Regions from separate parts of the Homo sapiens genome. Here region 2 is linked to region 1. The links are contacts of gene promoters, found by promoter capture Hi-C in blood cells and fetal thymus (Javierre and others, 2016). All regions are on one chromosome and are shown on one strand. The core of a region is centred on a gene start or on the middle of the fragment in contact, and the rest is flanking DNA. Distances in the headings are between cores, read along the strand shown.

Region 1 (4,546 bases), core at 937-3,436:
TCTTGGAAGGTCAAGGGAGCCACATTGCTCCAGTCCTGGAAGGCTTGACGCAGGGCTGCCCGGGCTGTGTGGGGTGGAAGGGTGGAGGGCAGGTTCAAGATGCGGAAAGTCAGGTGCTTCTTTCTCCAGCGGCCTAGTTAATGACCAGAAAACAGATTAGAAATACAGATCCTTCTGCCAACCCCAGAGAGCTCCTCTGGGTTTAGGCACTCAACCCCCAAGACAGGTGACAACCAGGTAATCACCAGGTGATTATCTATTCAACACTGAGCTGGTCCAGACTGTCCTAATGCCACCCACACGCCAGAACCACATCACCCCCTCCTCTCCCTCTCTTTTCCAGGCTCTGTTCTCACCCAGCAACAGGTATTTAAGGGTCTTCTGGTTGAAGGGATCCTCTAGGCCACAACGAGGCTGCCTCATGCGGGCCCTTGTGGCATCATCCAGCTGACCTGAGACTGGAAGTTCAGATGCTTCCTGAAAAGCTCTGAAGGAGGGAGAGGGATGGGTCTACCAGGACAGGAAAATCTGAAATGACTGGGAGATGATTGCTCTTTGACTTCCTGCTGCCCAAGTTCATGGCCAAGAATAGCACAGAATCCCTGAAGCTGACAGGGTTACTCCAGCCTCCAGTCCTCATAACTGGGACTTTCTCTTCTGTTCTGCAGAAATGGAGATACTCCAGCTTCATCTCCCCATTTTCAGTGTCTTTTATTTGAGTAAGTTTGCCCTCAGGTGTAGCCTTCCTCCTCTACTGCAATCTTCCTTCCTTCCTTCCTTCCTTCCTTCCTTCCTTCCTTCCTTCCTTTCTTTTTCTTCTCTCTTTCTTTCTTCCTTTCTTTCTTTTTTGGTAGAGATGGGGTCTCATTATGTTGCCCAGGTTGCTGTCAAACTTCTGGGCTCAAGCAATCCCCCTGCCTGGATCTCCCAAAGTGCTGGGATTACAGGCGTGAGCCACCATGCCCAGCCCCTCTACTGCAATTTCTAACCTTCTCCTACTCTGTGGAGGTGTCTGGCTCCCCTGCTCTGGAGAGCTTTCCACTAGTGCTCCCACCTGACAGCCTGTCCTCCTTCAGCCTTCTCCCTTCCTGAATGGATACCCGTCCCAGCCCAGCTTGCCCTGGAGCAATTTCATCCATCTATGGACTGTCATAGGGCCTAGGGGCTTTTCAAGGGACCTGAACATATCTGAGAGCAGAAAGAAAAATAATCCATTACATCAACATATAAAACTATAAAATAGAAATAAATAAGTACCAAATTGAAGGCCCACAAAAGGTAATAGCATGTCAACAACTCAACTCAGTTTTACATATCATTACACTTTATGTGGACTATAACTAAATATTAGTATTTGAGATATGATGTGGGTAGAGACTCCAAAGGAATGCTTATGGCCTAGGAAGATCCAATGCCTGTATTCCTCATCTGTGAATCCCCATCTCACCCCATGCCCCACCACCATAATAATGATCGCCACCCATCTCTAAATCCCTGGCATGGTTTAGGGTCAGGAGGAGGTGGGCCTGGGGAGAGGAAGGGATGAGAAGGAAGAAGACCTTGAGACCTTAGCCCTAAAGGCATACACCTCATAGCTTCTCACCTCAGAGCCTCGGTGATATCTTCTGGCTTGAAGTTATTAGATCCTTCTAGAGGCTTCTGTAGGTACCCATATTGTGACAGGTAGTCCTATGATGGGAGTGGAGGTAAGCAGGTTAAAAGGGGGTTAGTCTCAGAGTAAAGCTTCTAAGTGACCTAACAGATCCATCAGGAGAGGAGGGACCTGATATGGAAGCACTAATGGAGAAGCACCTTAGAGAAGGGGCTCAGGTGGAACAAGGGGAAGCAGCGGGAGATGGGCAGGGTAGACCATGGGGCAGAGAGAGCAAGGGAAAGGCAGGCAGGCTGAAGGTCAGGAGGGAGGCTTCGATGGGGCTGTGGAGCAGTAACCCCTGTCCCTCCGCTGGCCCAGGTCTCTTTCTTGGGGGACTTACCACAGGCGCCACCTCTGCAAGCCCCAGGACCCGGCCTGAGACTGTCATGGGGAGTAGGAAGCCCAGCCACAGCTGCTGGCAGTTCATGGTCCCACCAGACGAGAGCTCCAGAGGCTGTCCGTGCCTCTGACCTGAGATTTCTGGGAGCCTTGGGGGAGCAGTGCTAGGCAGAGGGGCTCTTACCCCCAGTTCTTTTTACTCTCCAGCCTCTAGTCCTCTTTATAACAGCTGAGGGGAATTTGGGGGAGAGGCAGAGGGAGGTGACTCAGCCAAGAGATATGTTGCAATTCACCATTAACCCTTGCCCTACCAGAGAGCGGAAGCCAAAGAGAGTTCCCAATCGCTTCCCTCAGAGTCCTCTGCTGGAGATGGAAAAACTTCATACTGCCCTAGGGTGAGCATCCAGGCAGGACGAGAACCAGAATCTCTGGAGAGACTAGAGATAGGGATCATGGACATCCCCTGGAATTAGACATCAATGTGCCTCAGGGACCCTGGGCCAGCAAATCACTCCGCCCCTACCTTTGAGTCTCCCTAGAATAAGCTGAGAGGTAGGAAACAGCTGAGGTAGCTTGGGTTTCAGGTGAAGGAGTCAAGCGTGAAGTCTCAGTTTCTTTGTACCCAAGACCAAGTTGGGAATATAGATGCTCCTGCAACCTACTTATGTCTGCTTTAATAAAAAGTCATTATTTCAAGAATCTAATGAGCCTGGAATATGTGGGTGTAGGTGGGACTTAACAAGGGCACAAATAAGTAAAGGGCCCAGAGCCTACCCTCAGGGAGCTTACGGATCCAGTGAGGCAGATCCAGACACCTGGGAAGAGGGGAGCCAGCGTGCCAGGCCAGAGGTGATTCACCCTAAGGGGCTTGGGGCTGGGGGGAGGTTTGCTGAGAAGTCAGGCTTTGAGATGGGCTTTGAAGGCCAGCTAAGAATTGATGGGGTAAGGCCAGGCATGGTGGCTCGCTCCTGTAATCCTAGCACTTTGAAAGGCTGAGGTGGGTGAATCACTTGAGATCAAGAGTTCGAAACCAGCCTGACCAACATGGTGAAACCTTGTTTCTACTAAAAATACAAAAATTAGCCAGGTATGGTGGCGGGCGCCTGTAATCCCAGCTACTCGGCAGGCTGAGGCAGGAGAATCACGTGAACCCAGGAGGCAGAGGTTGCAGTGAGCTGAGATCACACCATTGCACTCCAGCCTGGGCAACAGAGCAAAAACTCCATCTCAAAAAAAAAAAGAATTGATAGGGTAAAAGGATACTGAGAGACAGACAGTGCAGGTCTTGAGTAAAAGTGCAGAGCTGAGAGACTGCTGTACTCAGTAAGTCAGAAGGGTCACGACTGCTTCATTCACCACTGAAGCCCGAGTGCCTACCCCAGGCCACCTCCATGCTTTCGAGGCTGTGCTTAATAAATCACTGTCAAAGAATGACCAGGGTGGGAAAGTGGTTGGGAGACAGAATTTGGAGAGGGCCTTAAATGCTATGCAAGGAAAAGAAGAAAAACTTACATTTAAAAATACCGGACGGGAGCAGTGGCTCACGTCTGTAATCCCAGCACTTTCGGAGGCTGAGGTGGGCGGACCATGAGGTCAGGAGTTTGAGACTAGCCTGGCCAACATAGCAAAATCTTGTCTCTACTAAAAATACAAAAATTAGCCAGGCGTGATGGCATGCGCCTGTAATCCCAGCTACTCGGGAGACTGAGGCAGGAGAATTGCTTGAACTGGGGAGGCGGAGATTGCAGTGAGCTGAGATCGCGCCACTGTACTCCAGCCTGGTGACAGAATGAGACTCTGTCTCAAAATTAGTTAATTAGTTAATTAATTAAAATAAAAATACCTATTATTGGGTGATGGGTGAACCAAAATCTCACAAATCACCACTAAACACTAAAGAATTTATGTAACCAAATACCACCTGTTCCCCAAAAACCTATGGAAATAAAAAATTAAAGGAATTAAAGTCCGGGCATGGTGACTCACACTTGTAATCCCAGCACTTTCGGAGGCCGAGGTGGGTGGATCACCTGAGGTCAAGAGTTTGAGACCAGCCTGACCAACATGGTGAAACCCCGTCTCTACTAAAAATACAAAAATTAGCCAGGCGTGGTGGCACGCGCCTGTAATCCCAGCTACTCAGGAGGCTGAGGCAGGAGAATCGCTTGAATCCGGGAGACAGAGGTTGCAGTGAGCTGAGATCGCACCACTGCACTCCATCCTGGGCGACAGAGCGAGACTCTGTCCCCCCACAAAAAAAAAATAAATAAATAAATAAATAAAAAGCTACTATGTATTACATGCTTTATATATTACCTCCTATAGTTCTCACAGCCATCTGGTGAGGGGAAAATTATTCCGGCCACTTTTTGTAGGAGGAAATAGATACTCAGAAAGGGAAATTTGACCAAGAACATGGAACTCCCAACTGGCCTGACCTTATTTAAATCCCTCTGCTGACTCTATAACTCATGCTCTTTCCGTACACCACACTGACACTTAGAGCTTTGTTCTTTAAGTAACTAGGACCCCTGAAGGCTCCACCATCAGTTA
Region 2 (4,546 bases), core at 1,381-3,880, 42 kb after region 1:
CACTCTGTTGCCAGGCTGGAGTGCAGTGGCACGATCTCAGCTCACTGAAATCTCCACCTCCCAGGTTCAAGTGATTCTCCTGCCTCAGCCTACCGACTAGCTGGGATTACAGGCGCATGCCACCACACCCAGCTAATTTTTTTGTATTTTTAGTAGAGACAGAGTTTCACCATGTTGGCCAGGATGGTCTCAATCTCCTGACCTCATGATCTACCCACCTTGGCCTCCCAAAGTGCTGTGATTACAGGGGTGAGCCACCACACCTGGCCAGAGTGTTGATGTTTCTGTTTGTGTAAAAAATAGGTTCTCTCTCACCTATGGTGGTGGGTGGTAGCTCGGATCTCAGGGTAAAATTTTAAGGCTGAAATTATTTTAGCCTTAACTGCCAGCTTCTCTCAGATCAGCCAGAGACTTAGTATTTATAAGCAGATTTGGGGGCCCCCATTTCCTGGTTTTCTTCTTTCTGGCATTGCCTCCTCACTTTCCCATGACTGTGTGTGCCCTGAGCTCTGAACTCTGGTTCTTCAGGCCAGACAGATGGTGGGTTTTTCATCAAAGTTTTAGCTGTCTCATTTCACACCATGATGTGGTATGCCCTTAGTCTAACAACATACAAATGGGAAACTCACCCTGGACCAAGTCCTTCATCCAACTTTCAACTCTCCTCCTAAATATGCCTGCTTTGGCTAACTCTCCAGAGCCTTCAGGTCGTTGTTTTGTTTTGTGTCCTCAGTTTATGTTGTTATCTGCAGAAAGGTAGGGCTGTTAGAAATTTCACTATTCTGGAAGAAGAAACCACTATACCTTTGTTGTTTTTATTAGTAAAGAAATTGCCTATTAAGAAGTAAGTTATAAACATCAATATATAGTGGGTCATAACAGAGCTAGGCAAAGCTATCAATTAAGGAAATAGAACAGTCCCCAGGCTAGAACAAGATGAAAAAGAAAAACTAAGCCAACCAAAGTAGTTTTGTAAGCCATGGAAGCATCAAAAAGCAGAGCCACAGACAGGCCAGGCACGTTGGCTCACACCTGTAATCCCAGCACTTTGGGAGGCCAAGGCAGGCAGATCACCTGAGGTGAGGAGTTCGAGACCAGCCTGGCCGACATGGCGAAACCCCATCTCTACTAAAAGTACAAAAATTAGCCGGAAGTGGTGGCGGGTAGCTGTAATCCCAGCTACTCAGGAGGCTGAGGCCGGAGAATCGCTTGAACCTGGGAAGCGGAGGTTGCAGTGAGCCGAGATTGCGCCGCTGCACTACAGCCTGGGCGACAAGAGCAAGACTCCGTCTCAAAAAAAAAAAAACAGGCCAGGTGTGGTGGCTCACGCCTGTAATCCCAACACTTTGGGAGACCAAGGCAGGTGGATCACCTGAGGTCAAGGGTTCGAGGCCAACCTGACCAACATGGCGAAACCCTGTCTCTACTAAAAATACAAAAATTAGCTGGGCATGGTGGCGGGCGCCTGTAACCCCAGCTACTTGAGAGGCTGAGACATGAGAATAGCTTGAACCCAGGAGGCAGAGGTTGCAATGAACCAAGATCATGCCACTGCACTCCAGCCTGGGCAACAGAGTGAGACTCTGTCTCAAAAAAAAAAGAAGCAAACACTGGTAGTGACCGTTCAAGGATGGTATTTGGGAGAATAAATCTTGGCAATGGACTTGAGTATTCAGGACACTTGACTAGGCCATCCCAACTGTGGAAGTAAATGCATCACACAATGGCAGCCTGATGTCTTCAATCTTTCTAGCGGTATAACTCACTCCCTGTATTAGTCCATTTTGCATTGCTATAACGGAATACCTAAGACTGGGTAATTTACAAAGAAAGGAGGTTAATTTGACTCACGGCCCTGCAGGCAGTACAAATATGGCACCAGTGAGGTCTTCCGAAGCTTTTACTCATGGCAGAAGGTGACGGGAGCAGTCGTGTCACATGGCGAGAGAGGAAGCAAGAGAGATTCCAGGCTCTTTTAAATAACCGGCTTTTGTGTGAGCTAATAGAGTGAGAACTCATTCATTACCATGGGGAGGGCACCAAGCCATTCATGAGGGATCTGCCCGCATGACCCAAACACCCACCTCCAGCCTCCAACATTGAAGGTCACATTTCAACATGAGATTTGGAGGGGACACACATCTAAACCAGGTCACTCCCCTAGTCCCAATTTCCATGCTGTGATAAGTTGAAAAATGTTCCCTGAAAAAAGATCTTAACTTCCTAATCCCTACAACCTGTAAACAATGCCTTATATGGCAAAAAAAAAAAAAAAAAAAAAGGTTGGGGGGCGGGGGGTGTCTTTGCAGATGTGATTAAGTTCAGGATCTTGAGATTATATTACTCTAGATTATGTGGCTGGGCCCCAAATACAATCACCTGTATCCTCATGAGAGAGAGAGAGATTTCACACACAAAGAGAGAAGACAATGTGAAGGAAGATAAAGGCAGGGATTGGAGTGATGCTGTCACAAACCAAGAAATGCTGGCAACTACCAGAAGCTGGAAAAGGCAAGGATTAGATTCTCCCCTATAGCCCCTGGGGAGGGAGAGTGCAGCCTTGTCAACACCTTGATTTTTCTTTCCTTTTTTTTTTTTCTGAGATAGAGTTTCACTCTTGTTGCCCAGGCTGGAGTGCAATGGTGCAAACTTGGCTCACTGCAACCTGTACCTCCTGGATTCAAATGATTCTCCTGCCTCAGCCTCCCAAGTAACTGGGATTACAGGCATGCACCACACACCCAGCTAATTTTGTATTTTTAGTAGAGATGGGATTTCACCACGTTGGTCAGGCTGGTCTCGAACTCCTGACCTCAGGTGATCCACCGGCCTCCCAAAGTGCTGGGATTACAGGTGTGAGCCACCGCACCTGGCTTTTTTTTCTTTTTCTGAGACAGGGTCTCGCTCTGCCACCCAGGCTGGAGTGCTGTGGCACAGTCATAGCTCACTGCAGCCTCCACCCCCTGGGCTCAATCGATCCTCCTAACTCACCCTCCCTAGTACTAGTAGCTCCCTAGTTGCTGGGACTACAGGCATGCACCACCATGCCTGGCCGACACCTTTGCTTTGATCCAGTGATACTGACTTTGGACTTCTAGCCTCTAGTACTTTGAGAGAATACATTTCTGCTATTTTAAGCCACCAAGTTGTGGTAATTTGTTATAGCAGTCACAGGAAACTAATATGCATACTCACCAAGTAACCTTCTGAATATAATTTGGTGAACCAAGGAGCAATGTTTGTGGGCAGTGAGAGTGCTGGTTGTGCTGACTCAAGTGTTCTATTCCTCATGGTAGGTTTGGTTTGTATAAAATGATAAACTGACATTCTAATTTATATGTTCTAGTTTATAAATCAGCCTTGTAAGCTTGACTAATATGGGTCTATCCTCAAGAATTGGATCTACTGTCTGTGCTGACAAAACCAGATGTCTGTAGGGATATTGGCAAGATCCAGACCATGGTCAACACATCAGGAAAAGAAATACTATTTTGTTGAGGTATCTTGAGAAGTACATACCTGGTTTCTCCTCATTTTCCATGATCTTACCATCAGTTCTCTATTTCAAAACTTCATCAATAATAACTAACTTTAGGCTGGGCATGATGGCTCATGCCTGTAACTCCAACACTTTGGGAAGCCCAGGCAGGAGGACCACCTGAAGCCAGAAGTTCACAACCAGCCTGGGCAATATAGCAAGACCCTGTCTCTACAAATAAAATTTAAAAATCAGCCCAGGCATTGTGGTGCATGCCTGTAGTCCTAGCTACTTGGGTGGCTGAGGTGAGAGGATTGCTTGAGCACAGTAGGTGGAAGTTGCAGTGAGCTGAGATCACGCCACGGCACTCCAGCCCAGGAGACAGAGGGAGACTCTGTCTCAAAAAGAAAAAAAAAAAAGAACTGAGATTTGAACCCGGTATTCTGAGAGCAAACCCTGGGAACTAGATTTGTTCAAAAAACAAACAGCTATATTATGTTTCATTATACACTAGGTACCAAGAATCATGGATTTAGAAATGGATAAGACTAGTCATTTCTACAGCCATGAGGAGCTCCTAACCTAGTAGGAATAAATAGAAATAATTCGCTGAATTTGCCTTTGTATTTTAGTGTTTGAGGATTGTTACAGCCTGCACTTTATTATCTGAAACACTATTGTTAGATAAGGCATTGTTTTTACAACCCATTTAAAACAAGCTTGTCACTCAAGGAGAGGAACTCCAGGCAGAAGGAATTCATATCAGGTTGGGCACTGTGGCTCACACCTGTAATCCCAGCACTTTGGGAGGCCAAGGCAGGTGGATCGCCTGAGGTAAGGAGTTCAAAACCAGCCTGGCTAACATGGTGAAACCCCATTTCTACTAAAAATGCAAAAAATTATCCGGGCATGGTGGCGCCTGCCTGTAATCCCAGCTACTCGGGAGGCTGAGGCAGGAGAATCTCTTGAACCCAGGAGGCAGAGGTTGCAGTGAGCTAAGTTCACGCCATTGCATTCCAGTTTGGGCAACAAGAGCGAAACTCCATCTCAAAACAACAACGACAACAA

Evidence for each region. Contacts are between HindIII fragments. The CHiCAGO score rates a contact against its expected background, and 5 or more counts as called.
Region 2: a fragment that was not itself captured here is called in contact with the fragment with the promoter of MMP19 in region 1 in 1 of 17 cell types (endothelial precursors); the score reaches 5.4 in endothelial precursors.

Annotation. Positions count from the first base shown.
Region 1 is chr12:55,840,750-55,845,295 of GRCh38, forward strand. It overlaps MMP19 (matrix metallopeptidase 19), which reads right to left and starts at 2,187. Exons shown (of 9, transcript NM_002429.6): 1 at 1,995-2,187; 2 at 1,604-1,689; 3 at 357-487; 4 at 1-133. The coding sequence starts at 2,081. The HindIII fragment of the contact is 3,493 bases long and covers 1,742-4,546 here.
Region 2 is chr12:55,882,105-55,886,650 of GRCh38, forward strand. No RefSeq gene overlaps it. Among named protein-coding and RNA genes, the nearest start is that of MMP19, 41 kb to the left of the region's middle. The HindIII fragment of the contact is 1,470 bases long and covers 1,896-3,365 here.